Linked DNA regions of Homo sapiens: region 2 is linked to region 1. Evidence: promoter capture Hi-C in 16 types of primary human blood cells and fetal thymus (Javierre and others, 2016). All regions are on one chromosome and are shown on one strand. The core of a region is centred on a gene start or on the middle of the fragment in contact, and the rest is flanking DNA. Distances in the headings are between cores, read along the strand shown.

Region 1 (6,097 bases), core at 1,925-4,424:
GACATCAGTAGACAGTGAACAAAGCAGATTACCCTCTCTAATGTGCATGGGTCTTCCCACTAGCTGACTGGGGGCCTTCCAATCAGTTGAAGGCCTTAAGACTGAAGACTGAAGTTTCCTGAAAAAGAAGAAATTCTTCTCAAGAATTCTTGACTGCAACATGGGAAACTTATATGAGTCTCTAGTCTGCTGCTCTGTGGAATTTTGACTAAAGACTGCAATAGCAACTCTTACTTGAGTCTCCAGACTGCTGGCCTGCCCTATGGATTTCAGATTTGCCAACCCTCACAGGAGCCAATTTGTTAATTTTTTTTTTTCTCAACTTTTATTGGTCCTGTTTCTCTGGAGTACCTTGACTAATACACCCTTATTTCAAAATGTGTCTAATACCTAAACCCTTTTCATCACCTCTACCAATAGCACTTTGGTTCAAGACATTATCATCTCTCTGCTGGATGTTACAATTGCTGCATATCTGGAGTTCCATCTATAGCCCATGAGCCAGGCTGACCCTTTAAAACCGTAAGTCATGCATGTTACTCTTCTCTTTAGTGTCCTCCATTGGCTCTTACCTCATTCAGAGTAAAAACTGGAGTCCTTAGATGACCTCTAAGGCCCTACACTGTTTGGTCTCCTGCTGCTTTCTCTGACTTCATCTCTGTGCCCTCACCTACCTCACTAGCCTTCAGCCACACTTCCTTTAACATGCTAAGCAAGTTCCTACTTCAGGGCCTTTGCTCCTGCTGGAAGTCTCTTTGCTCTAGTCAATTCATCAGGCTACCCAGGAGCAGAACAGCACAGTTTCTTGCATCTCAAGGGAAGCAATGACTTTATCCAGAATGGACTATTCATTTAAGACCTGCTGCAATGTGTGTGTTAGCCAACTGCCTAGGGTGTCATCTCTGACACATGGCCTGGGATCCTTTCAATAGTTGATTTTGATCATTTATAGTCTGATTGTTGTTGTACCTGTGTAAGAGTGGTTGGTGTGCAGACCAGCCAAGGAGCAATGATAAGTCTGCGCATCTGTCAGCGTGTGTAAGTTAGAGCATGGGGCTTCTTGTCACTGCCTGACTTTCAAGTACATCCCAGTTTTAAGTGGCTGTTTTCTAAAGAAACTCTTGTCCTTTCATTGTGGGCCCAAGAAAACATTTGAATTCATATTCAAAAACACTGTACTTCAGTAAGGGAAACACATGAGAAACGTATGGGAAGTAGATACTTTAAATAGACCTGCACAGAGAAAACATCCTCCCCGGTGGCAATGTGATCAGAGAGACCCCATCCCTCCTGCGCTCTACTCCCTGCCCCAGCTCTCATCTCCTGGGCTTTGTGTAAATGGTTAGCTGGCTCCAGAGGTTTCAGTCCTTCCTAGGCCTTTCTCATTGTGTGTCCTAGTAGTCATGGGAGAACCCACAATGTATCCCATGTATCAGAAACGTGATTCTTCTGGGCTGTGGAATCAACTAGACCTTGCTCAGTCTTGACTCTGACATTCATAAATGGTGGGAGAAGGGAGGGAGTTGGACAAGTTATACACTCCTCTTTATCCGTTTCCTCACTTACAAAGTAGAAATGATGCCTACATTATGGGGCTGTTATGGGATTTGAATAGAATAATGTACAGTGAGAGCCTGGCCCACAGTAAACATTCAGTAACTGTGTCTCAGGATGAGTCAGGATGGAGACGGGAGCAGTGCTTCAGAGACAGGCTCAAGACCCTGTCCTCTGGGGCTAGGCTGGTGTGTGAGGTGGATACTCCTGATCTCTGGTGGGACTGACCCCTAGGCCATTCTTCACCTGGTCACCCAAGTGCTCCTCTCAGAATATAAACTTGATCAGGCCACTGCCGTCCTAAAAATGCTGGTGATACTGACCTCAAGTTCAGCCTCCAAATAGCCTGCAACATAGGCCTGGCAGGACCTTCTCTTGGCTCACACCTCCTGTTCTTTGGGCCTCTCACCAGGGTCCTTTCACCACTTTGCTCTAGTCATGAAGGAAACATTGGGTGAGCAGTGCTCTTTGAGCTTGGTTGTTAGAGCAGTCATGCTTCCGTCCTACCTTGCTGGCATTCAGCCATATTTTCTCCATCTCCTTTGCAAGATCTCATGGGAGGTTTTCTGAAATTTAGCCACAGTGTCAACTGGATTCCCCTGCTCCACTGCCTATCTGAAACAGGAAAGAGGTTAGTCTTGTGGGACCAGTTTTGCTTGCATACCTGTAGACTTGCTGTATTTTTTCTTTTAGTTTTATTTTTAATTGACACATAATAATTCTACACATTTATGGGCTAGAATGTGATGTTTCAATATATCTATGTATTGTGTAATGAACAAATCAAGGTAATTATCATATCCATCATCTCAAACATCATTGTTTTTTTGTGGTGAGAACATTCAAAATCCTCTCTTCTATGTTGAAATATACAATACGTTATTAACTGTAGTCCCCCTACTGTGCAATAGAACACTAGAACTTACTCCTCCTATGTAACTCTAACCTTTTACCTATTGACCAACCTCTCCCCATCCTTTGATGTATTTGGTTCTCCATCCCCTCACCTGTAAAATGCTGGGCTTCATCAGGTGATCTCCTGGATTCTTTTCCTGCACACCAGCAGCTGGGGGTTTGCATGTTCCCCAGTGAGGAGCTGGCTCATTGATGCTGCTAGGTCCAAGTGAAATGCTGCACCCACAGCTCCAACTTTATCAGAGAGCCAAGGGAGGCCTTTGCAGAGAGAGACTGGGTGGAGATCACTGTAAAGGGGTGGCAGGCCAGTCAGTGTGGGCCAAGTCAGTCGGGGAGGGAGCAAGAAGAGCAGTCTTGATCTCTGGGATGTTCTCTGCCCTCCTCCCCAGCCCTGGCTGCCCTCACAAGAACCAAACTGTGTATCTCAATCCTAGAATGCGAGGAATGTGCTGCAGGCTGATAGGCATGAAGCGATCTGCTGAGAGGCAGGGAGGAGCCCTGTTCCCCAGGCCTGACAGTGCAGGAGCTGTGGGCCTGCAGGCTGGGCTGGGCTGCCCCTCCCACCCTCCCTGGGCCTCCTGCTGTAGCCGGGATATCAAAGGCTGCATTGTGCATTGAGCAGGCCTCGGTCCCTCGTGTGCCAGGGAGGAGGCGGGAGGAGGGACACCGTTGGGAGGCTGTCCCTTGCAGCACTCTTCTGGCCTGTGTTCCCAAGGGCCTCGGCCAGGGTAGGATGGTACACACATGGGTGGCTGCTTCTGCATCCCCAGGGAGCGGAGTCTGACCCGGGGCCCAGGTGAGTTTCCCAGGGGGCCCTTGGCCTGTGGCTTGGCCAAAGTGGATGGTCCAGTAGAGGCTCAGGGACCTGCTGGGTTGGAGAAACTTTTCTCCCAAAGATGGGGAGATGATTGTGCTTTCTGGCTGCCTCTCCTTCCTCCCTGGGTAAGTGTTTGTCATGCTGGCTCTGTAAAAAGGGAGCAAAGCCTGGAAGCATCTATTTTTTCCTGAAGAAAGAGCCTTTGAGTTTACTCTGTCAGGAGCTGAGCAGCACTGCTCCTGGCTGCCACTCCCAGGGTGTGACTAAGCCCTTCCTTCCTTTCTTCCCGAGATCCCCCCAGGACAGGAAGAAAGTTCAGGCAGTGAGTTCCTCTGTGGCCTATGGGTGGCCATAAACTTGGCCTTAGTCATTCAAGCCTATTTTTGTCAGGGTTGCTGTTACTGGAGAAAAACAGGCAGTTTCCTGCCTCCACCTATTACAGAGTGATTTGTGTGTGAGTGCATGTGTGAGTGTGTGCATCAAGTTGAGGCAATGGAGAGTTGTTGCTCTAAGAAATTGTCAACTCATGGGAGAGTGACTTAGGGTGACCAGCCATTATGGTTTGCCTGGGACTGAGGAATTTGCTGGGATATGTCAGTTCCAGGCCAACCAGGCTGGTTGGTCTCCCTGAAGCAACCTTCTTGCTTTTTTTCAGAGGAGAATCAAGGTAGGGCCCTGTGTTCTCTTGTGTGGTGTTTATCAGGATGAGTGGTGGCTTTGGGGAAATGTGGGGTTAGATTGGTGGGGGGAGGCTTGCTTGGGAGATAGGGGAACATTGCTCCAAGGAATCATTCCTAACCCTTGTTAGAACTCTGTGTCTTCCTGGAGCTCCACCATGGTTCCTGAGAGAAGGAGCTAAGGAGCATCCCCTAGCTGAGGGCTTTCTACTCTCTGACAGACAACTTTCTTCTTTAGTCTTATGACTTGGGCTTGTAGAAGGCACTTGAGGTCATTAAAGTGAACCCAAAACAACCATATTCTGCTTCCTCTGCTTGAAGTCTTGATCTAGGCACCTTGGCACCTACAGCAGGGAGTGTCCCCCCAAATGATGCCCTTGGCACAAAAGGCACGACTTTAGCTATGAACAATTTCGCTTCTCCAGATTTCTCAGATGTAAACACTTTTCAGTCCCTCCCCCTAAGTCCTATTGTCATTGTGCCCCATGAGAGTAGAAACAGCATGGAGGGAGACGTGCAGGACCACTGGTCGGAGATCGGGGTTCTAGATCTGACTTCCTCTAGCTCTAGTTATGCAGTTGTCATCTTGGCTACTCACTTGGTCTTTGAGGCCAAAGTGTCTGGATTTTATCTTGGTTCTTTTACTTGCCTCGACAACTTATTTAACTTCTCTGTGTTTCAGTTTCCTTATCTGTAGCTTTTATGACATGATTATGTCTTCTTCATAGAGCTGTGGTGGAGATTAAGTCTACATGTGAAATGGTGAAACAGTCTGGTGCACAGTTAGTTGAGCACAATAAAATTCACCATTGTTAATTCCATTTTGATGACCCCAGTATAACTCGCGCTCTCCCTGGGCCTCCATTTAATCATATATACAATTTTAGGGTTGTAAACTGCTGTGTAGAGGTGCCTCAGAGAGCTCTGCTCATGTTCCCTCATTCCTACCTAGAGCGGCTCTGCTTCTAGTTGACATCGTCCTTCAGCCAAAGATTTCCTGTAGAACAGAGTTACGCAGCTGAAAACAAACAAACAAACAAACAAAATATTGAAAAAGGTCAAAATCATAATAACACTATCATTCAATTACTTTATTCTTTCACCTTCTTTTTGCCATTGATTACTGGCTGGCACCCCGCATTCACCTTTTCACCAAGAGTTAGCCTGCTATGTATCTCCCTCGAGACTTTTCATGCCATTCCCCCATATTATTCCCTGTATGTGTCAGGGCCTTTCCCTAGCGAGGTTGATATTGGTGTTGTAGGTCCAAGTCCAGTCGATCTGGATATTCCCATTCCAGATTCCCCTATTTATCCTAGAGAAAAGGAACAAAGTATGAGACCCATCCTGGAGCAACTTAATAGTTGTGTGACCTTGGGCAAGTCCCTCATGTTTTTTGAACCTCAGTTTTCCTGGCTGTAAACTGTATCTAATGGTGGTACTTATCCCATGGAACTTTTGTGAGGATTAAATTTAATAATTCCTCTCATGGACTTAGCACAAGGTCTGGCTTTTGATAACCCTTCAGTAACTACAGGCTGTTTTATCGTTAGTTAATATGGGCCACTCCTACATCACTTCCTCCTAATTCCTTACTGGTCTGGAGAAGTCTGTACTTATGTTTCCTGGGGTGCTTCTGCCTTGTGTCTGTTTAAGTGAGAGTTAACAGCAGACACCAAAACAGTGAGTCCTCAGGGCTAATGGACACAGGAAAGGAGAAGGCTCTTGATAGCACTGAGCACTGGACAGCTGCCAGACTAGTTTGTGTGGAGTGACACAATAATGAACGTTGACTCTGACTACTCCAGGCACCTGCATTCTTACATGTGGACTCTGCCTGCAGCATCTGTTCCCTGGGATGGCTCTCAACTGCTCACAGAACTCCCCTAATCAGGGGGGACTGCACATGGTGAGAGGATAGGTTCTGATCAGTTGCTATCATCTCTGACTTCCCCACCCTATCTATGAGTTGTTTCTTGCCATTGCTTAATAAGCTACAGTTGCTCACTTTGGATCACAGAGAAAGCCATGTCAAAGTTTGTTGATCAAAAAACTTCTAGCACTTCACCCTTATTTTCAATGCCTGTTTGAAGAAATTTGGCAGATTTATGCCCTTAAATAGAAGATGTGGAAG
Region 2 (6,737 bases), core at 3,289-5,788, 620 kb after region 1:
AAGATTAGTGAATTTGGAAGTCCACAGTTCTCCTTTCTGAAAATGGCTCTCTTCCCCTCCAACAACAAAGCATTTCTTAGGGAAGGACTAAAACAGGGATAATAAGAACCAGATAATAGTGCTTTGAGGTAGCTGGTAAACTTTTGTTTAATGCCACCATTGTTGGCAGGATCTACTACTTAATACATACATGCATACACATATACATAACTACAGTAGGATTTCTCCCTTATGAAATATTTCTTTCCCAGGAGCTTAGTAAGCATATCTGCTTATGTAAAATATTATTTCTCAGTGGCAGGTCTTCCATATTAAATGGGAACTTGGATTCAATAGAGACACAAAGATTACAACATAGGGAGGAAAATGAGATCTCACTACATCACAGGACTCTTCTTAACTCTCTAGATGTGCTTGTGAGCCAGCCCATGATTGGTGTCTGTAGAGGTCACAGGCACCCTGGACCAGGGAAAGACAGCAATTGCAAGAATAGTACTCCTTGTCATTGTCAAGAAACTGGTCTCCTTTGCAGAGGAGAGCCTTACAAGCTTGCTTTGCTACCACTTTGGACTAGGGCTGGGATGCTGTGAGTGATTCCTCAAATGCCAACATTGGTGATTTACAGGACAGGGTCAGACTTGTTCTGTGTGAGCAGCTACTAGCCTTGTCTAGGAATCCAGGTAATTTAGCATGTGTATGAAAGACTCAGAAAGAGAAGACTTATAGCTTATCCAAGGAAGGAGGAGACGTATACCTTGCCCTCTTCTCTAAGAAGGCCACCCTCTTCCAGGAAGCCTGCCGTGTCAAGAAGAGAAGCATCTGAGGAAGAGGATGATGTGCTGCAGACATATCTAACAGATTGGCCTTGACAATCACTGGAGTTGATAAATGCTACAAGCAGACTATCCCCATGTCTGGGACAAAGGAAGTTCACTGTGCCTCCTCTCCACTTGACTCTCCAGGCTGCAAGACTCTTCAGCTCTGAAACCAGAGAGGGATGCACCATTCTAGCCTTCACCATTAACTGCTAGAAAGCAAAAGAAATAAAAACCAACTTCTTAAACTGATACCCAAGTATATGCTTGTAAAAAAACCTTTTCCTTCTGAGGCCCCACCCTCTTGTCTTGCCAACATTTCCACTTCGTGCTGCTAACTTGCTCTGTCCTGATGCAAATTGCTGTCTAGCTGGAGAGTGGTGGGGGGGCGGGGGTGGGCATGGGGTGGATGAGGGAGGGGACCTAGGGAGGGGCTGGGGAGTGGATATAACTACACTGCCTTTAATATTGTCTTCAAGCAAGAACAAAAATAATGTCTTCTTGGTGCTGTGCTGTCTACCCACTTATCTCTTTGGTATTGGATCTCTCTGGTGAGAAAACGTTGTCACTCCTCTCTTTTTGTCTCTTCACTTTGCTGTGGTCAAAATCTTGTAACATCTAGTCTAGGAAGGAAAAAAAGACTAATGCATTTACCTCTTCTGGCCAAAATTTGTAATCTCTTTTCCATCTAATTTAGAAAACTGAGGCTGAATATTTGGTTTGAAGTCAAACAATTCAGGAATGGATTTGAAGTCCTAAGTATGAACAACGCATTGCTTTGGGCCTTACCCAACACTTAACTTCACCTGTCTCATCTACAAAATAGAGATAATTTCTGAGTTTGTACGATTGTTGTAAGTGCTCCAACATGGGTCATCTGAGGGCCACTGTTAGGATTTTTATCAAATGTGTTCTGCCTGTTCTGTTACCTATTTAATATCCTTATTTAAGTCCATTCAAGTTTTCACTTACCTAAATTTATTTTTGAAGGGAACATTATATCAGTACTCAAAATAGAAAAAAAGGCTAATGAGTTTTAACTAGATGCCAGTGATCAAAGTGCAACCTCTGTTTCTGTGTTTAAAAGGGAGACAAGTGAATGTTGGAGAGTTGTTAGAAATGCCCTACCTCTTGCTTGGGGCTCTTTCAGTTAATTGGGAGGGTCAAAAGAGAATTTACAAAAGAGAAGCTTCCAAGCTTTAGGAGTTATTGTGATTTAGCTACAAGCTGCATTCTACACTTTTGGAAACATGGAGAGAAGGGATAAGAAACTGCATACATTTTTAACTACTGTTACAGTGGATTCAGATTAGGTTTCTCCTTCTTTACCTTTTCTTTCAGTTTGCCCCAGATCTATATCTTTGTTAATAAAAATAATAATAAAATAGCAATAAGAGAAACTGACATTTAATGAGTTTTTTTTTTCTGCTAGGCATTGTGGTCAGTGCTTTATATGAACTATTTCATTTAATCCTTATGAAATCCTTACAAGATTAGAATGAAAATTACCCCCACTTTACAGCTGAGCAAACCTCAGCTAAGACATCTGGCGACTAGCTCAAGGTAGCAGACCTGGGAAGTGTGGATTTGAAATGCAAACCCAGGCAGTCTTATTCTAAATGAGGCCCACAGTCCTAAGCATGTGCAACTGTGGTCATTATGGGGATGTATGTATTCCACCTTCACCTGTTAGACACTGCTAGGAGAGAGCAATGAACAATGTTGCTTAAGAATTTTCCTTTCCACATCAGCCTGGGACCCGAAGAGGAACTCTGGAATGCCTATTCCAGTTTGAACTCTGCCACTCATTTGCTTTCTTGTTTTCCTTTGCTCTTGCTTCCTCTCCCTGAGCCTCAACTTCCATCTTTAAACCATGGAAGACTCTGGTAAATTATTGATCAACAGGAAAGGCCCTCTGCACTGATCTTTTATAGTCTGTCTAGTATTCAGCAACCTGGGATTACTGAATAACCAGCAATAGACTGTGAGAACAAGATGTGAGTCAAAGAAAGCATTGGTCCTTTATATTCCAGGCCATCAGAGAGGCTGCTCATAGTAGGAGTGGCCCCTGAAAAAGGCAGTTTGCCTTCCCCATATTTCTTGGTCGGAACCTGGAACACTATTTGGATATGCTCCCATTGGTCTCATTAAGCATCAGCCTACCATTGCAAGCTTTGTGCAGTTTCTCTGCACTTTTATAAGATCTCTAAGTCTCTCATAACAGTATATAAAGAGGGATTGTTGACTTCATTTTACAGAAGAGGAAAGACTTTGTCAGGGAAAGTGATTTGTCCAAGAACAAGAGCTGATATGAGGCTGAAGTCAGAGGACTGAAAACATTCAGATTTCTCAATTCTAACAAAGTGCTTCCTTCTTAAGTTTATTTTATTTCTAAATATATAAATTATACATTTTTAGACTATATAAATAATAGGTTACATAAATGATGTATTTATGCAATCCATTTCCACTGTAAAAATTTGTTATATATATTAATACATACAAGAAAATACCCCTTGACTCCAACTCAATGCTACCCCCCTCCCCAGAAGTAAATGCTTTTTTCACTTGGCTTATGTAATTCAAATGTAATTTTCTATGCATTTACATATGTATAAATGTACATGTATAACATATGGCTTTTTTTCTTATATGTAAATAAAATGATGTTGGTATATAATAATCTGCTACTTGCGTTTTCAACAGTGTACTCTAAACATCATTTCACATTAACACATATAGTTTTTTTTAGCTGCTGCGTATCCATTTCTTGCTATAGACATTGTATGGATTGCAGTGTTCTTTTGCATTCTACCTGCCTCCCATGTGTAAATGGGACATCTCCCGCATCAGAAAATCAGCCTCTGTTTTTCTGGGACTGTGCTAAACATAGCTGGAGTGGTTTCAATTTAAGTGGCAGCAGTAAGTTGACTTGGCAGGTTCCCTATTAGGGCAGGCCCACCCTTATATGGGCCTCCTCTCATTATGAAGGACCAAGAAACTGCCCAAGTTGCACAGGCTTTGGACTCATCCTGCAGGATGTCATCCTTTGACAGCATCCTGCTCCCATCAATTCCTAGATGTGTGCTTTTGAGCAAGTTATGTAACCTTCTAAAACCGAGTTTTCTCACCAGTAAAGTAGGAACATATTGATCATACATTTAAAGTGTTATTGCAGGAGGTATGGAAAGCACTTAGTAATGATCACTTTTAAAAATGCTAGCTTTCATACTGTCATGATTTCCTCTTTCTCAACAGCCTCACCAGTTCTGTTTCCTACTATCCTGGAATATGGTATGAGGAACAGGTTATGGAAAGATGAGTCCAAAAAAACCCCACACAGCACCCGCCCCCCGCCCCCCCCGCCACAAAAAACAAACAAAACCAAACTTGGCTGGGCGCGGTGGCTCACGCTTGTAATCCCATCACTTTGGGAAGCCGAGCGGGTGGATCACCTGAGGTCAGGAGTCTAAGACCAGACTGGTCAACATGGCAAAACCCCGTCTCTACTAACAATACAAAAATTAGCCTGGCATGGTGGCGGGTGCCTATAATCCCAACTACTTGAGAGGCTGAGGCAGGAGAATCGCTTGAACCAGGAGGCAGAGGTTGCAGTAAGCTGAGATCGTGCCACTGCACTCCAGCCTGGGCAACACCCAAACTTCTTTTGATAATAAAAGAAATTATACTGGAAGCAATACTACCTCCACTGGCATCACACTGTCCAGTTTACTGGCGGCTCCTATTGGAAACTAACCACTGCCCTATGGGGTGGGTGGTTATATTATTAGTTGTTACCATTTGACAGAAAAGAAAACTGAGGCTGAAGGGTAGGGGTTCCAACCATCTCCAGCTCTCCCATCAGTTGTTTGAGGAAGTCAAAAACTGAACTCAGGTCTTCAGATTCTACATATGAAGTCCCTGTAAGAATTGTGGTACTAGCTATTATTTAGGGAGACTGTTAGACCTACACACCTGGCAATGAGACACAATTCTCTCACTGATATTAAGTTATATATCATCCATGCAGTATTTTTAAGGCCTTTAAAAAATGTGCCAGGCACTGCACTGCACCAACAGCTGGTGATATAATTAAATGAATGAATAGGATATCTCAGTTCTCTATGGCAGGTGTGGCCAAACCGTGGCCTGGAGGCCAAATCTGGTCTATGAGCCTTCAGGATGGTGTTTTACTTTAGTAAATGGCTGTGGAAAAAGTTTTATTTTGTGACGTGAAAATTACATGAAATTGAAATTTGTGTCCATAAAGTTTTATTGCAACACAGCCATGCCCATTCGTTTATATCGTCTATGACTTTCACAATAGTTGTGCAGTTGCCACAGAGAATGTGGCCCATTGAGCCTAAAATATTTACCATTTGGACCTATATAGTTTGCTGACCCTTGCTGTAGAGCAATCACTCTCCAGCCCTTCGTATTATATATATATTCAGAGTGACTATCGTAGTTGGCATCTTCCAGATTTTTTTTCAGCTATTCCAGTCTTAGCAACTTTTGAATGATTTTAGCGCTGCCAGCTGTACTTCCACTGATCTAACAGTTTAGGTTAGGTTAGACAAAGACATGACTAAGCCAAAAATTACAAAGCAGCGGCCTCTTGTGGCTAATGTAAGCATTACTTAGATAATTTGGTTAACAGGTTACAGTGAAAACCTAGAGTTAGATTGTCTTCGCTCAGGGTTGGGAATCCCAGATTACTTTGAAATATCTAGGATATTCTGTATTTCCTGCCTCTTACCACACTTGTAATCTGTATAGTGAAACACACTTGTCTAATTATAAGTTAGCTGAGTTAAAAATAATGTAATAAGGAGACAATAGAATGAAGTACCCAATTGAATCACTCTTCCTAATGTAATGAGAATTTTTAGAGCCTGGGAAAAAAAGAGAACGTTAAGGAAAGACACTGATTAACGCGGAATATTTTGTGTTAGAAAAACTTGCTGGCATCCTTGTATTTCTGTCACGAAAAACAGAGGCAGCCTAGTGGGAATCAGAAATTGGGATTATTGTCCTACCTAGCCTAAAAACAGGTCCTAATTATGAGTGAGCAATTTTCCCCCTTGGGCTTCAATTAAGCCCTTGTAAATGAAGGGGCTGAACAAATCTCAAAGAAACTTTACACCTTTGACCATAATTTCATGTCTAGAGAAAATTTATAAAAATGTTCCACAGGCCTTCAGTTTAAGTAATTTGCTGAGGTCACTTGGCTGGCAAGTGACAAAGCCATGACTCTGCAGGTGTTAAAGCTTTTGCTGACGACCCTTGACACTGTAATACTATGTATATCACTGCCTTATCAGGGCAATTAATTCCTCACCTTGAAAGGGGAGAAAGGCCATCTCCTGATGACAAGAAGTTTGGAAAATTCTGCTGTTCCCAGTATTGCCTTAAAGAGCTCTGCCTGTAATCCTAGTACTTTGGGAGGCTGAGGCAGGCAGATCACCTGAGATCAGGAGTTCCAGACCAGCCTGGCCAACATGGTGAAACCCTGCCTTTACTAAAAAATACCAAAAATTAGCTAGGCATAGTGGCGGGTGCCTATAATCCCAGCTACTCCGGAGGCTGAGACAGGAGCATCACTCGAACCTGGGAGGCAGAGGTTGCAGTGAGCCGAGATCATGCCATTGCACTCCAGCCTGGGCAACAAGAGTGAAACTCCATCTCAAAAAAAAAACCAAACCAAAAAAAACAAACAAAAAAAGTTATGTGAGTTGAACATCTTGTAGCTAAAAACTTTCAGAGATCAGAAATTGGATTACACTGGAATCTTACCTTAGATACAACTCTATATATACACTGCTTTTCTGTGCAGTATTTGCTACTCTTCTTTAAAAAGAGGGATTCAGGTCCAAGGCAAGAGAAAAGTTTTTAATAAACTTTTATTTTATATTCAAGATA

The links. The method cuts DNA at HindIII sites, captures the fragments that hold promoters and counts their contacts. A CHiCAGO score of 5 or more calls a contact.
Region 2: a fragment that was not itself captured here is called in contact with the fragment with the promoter of SH3TC2 in region 1 in 1 of 17 cell types (total B cells); the score reaches 5.2 in total B cells.

What each region holds. Positions count from the first base shown.
Region 1 is chr5:149,060,139-149,066,235 of GRCh38, reverse strand. SH3TC2 (SH3 domain and tetratricopeptide repeats 2) reads left to right here and starts at 3,174. Exons shown (of 17, transcript NM_024577.4): 1 at 3,174-3,265. The coding sequence starts at 3,214. It overlaps MIR584 (microRNA 584), which reads left to right and starts at 3,827; the gene lies at 3,827-3,923. SH3TC2-DT (SH3TC2 divergent transcript) reads right to left here and starts at 2,919. Exons shown (of 3, transcript NR_122044.1): 1 at 2,562-2,919; 2 at 1,878-1,986. RefSeq lists a silencer at 2,916-3,210. The HindIII fragment of the contact is 16,687 bases long and covers 1-6,097 here.
Region 2 is chr5:148,442,800-148,449,536 of GRCh38, reverse strand. FBXO38 (F-box protein 38) reads right to left here. Exons shown (of 22, transcript NM_205836.3): 22 at 6,701-6,737. Among named protein-coding and RNA genes, the nearest start is that of FBXO38, 62 kb to the right of the region's middle. The HindIII fragment of the contact is 3,098 bases long and covers 2,990-6,087 here.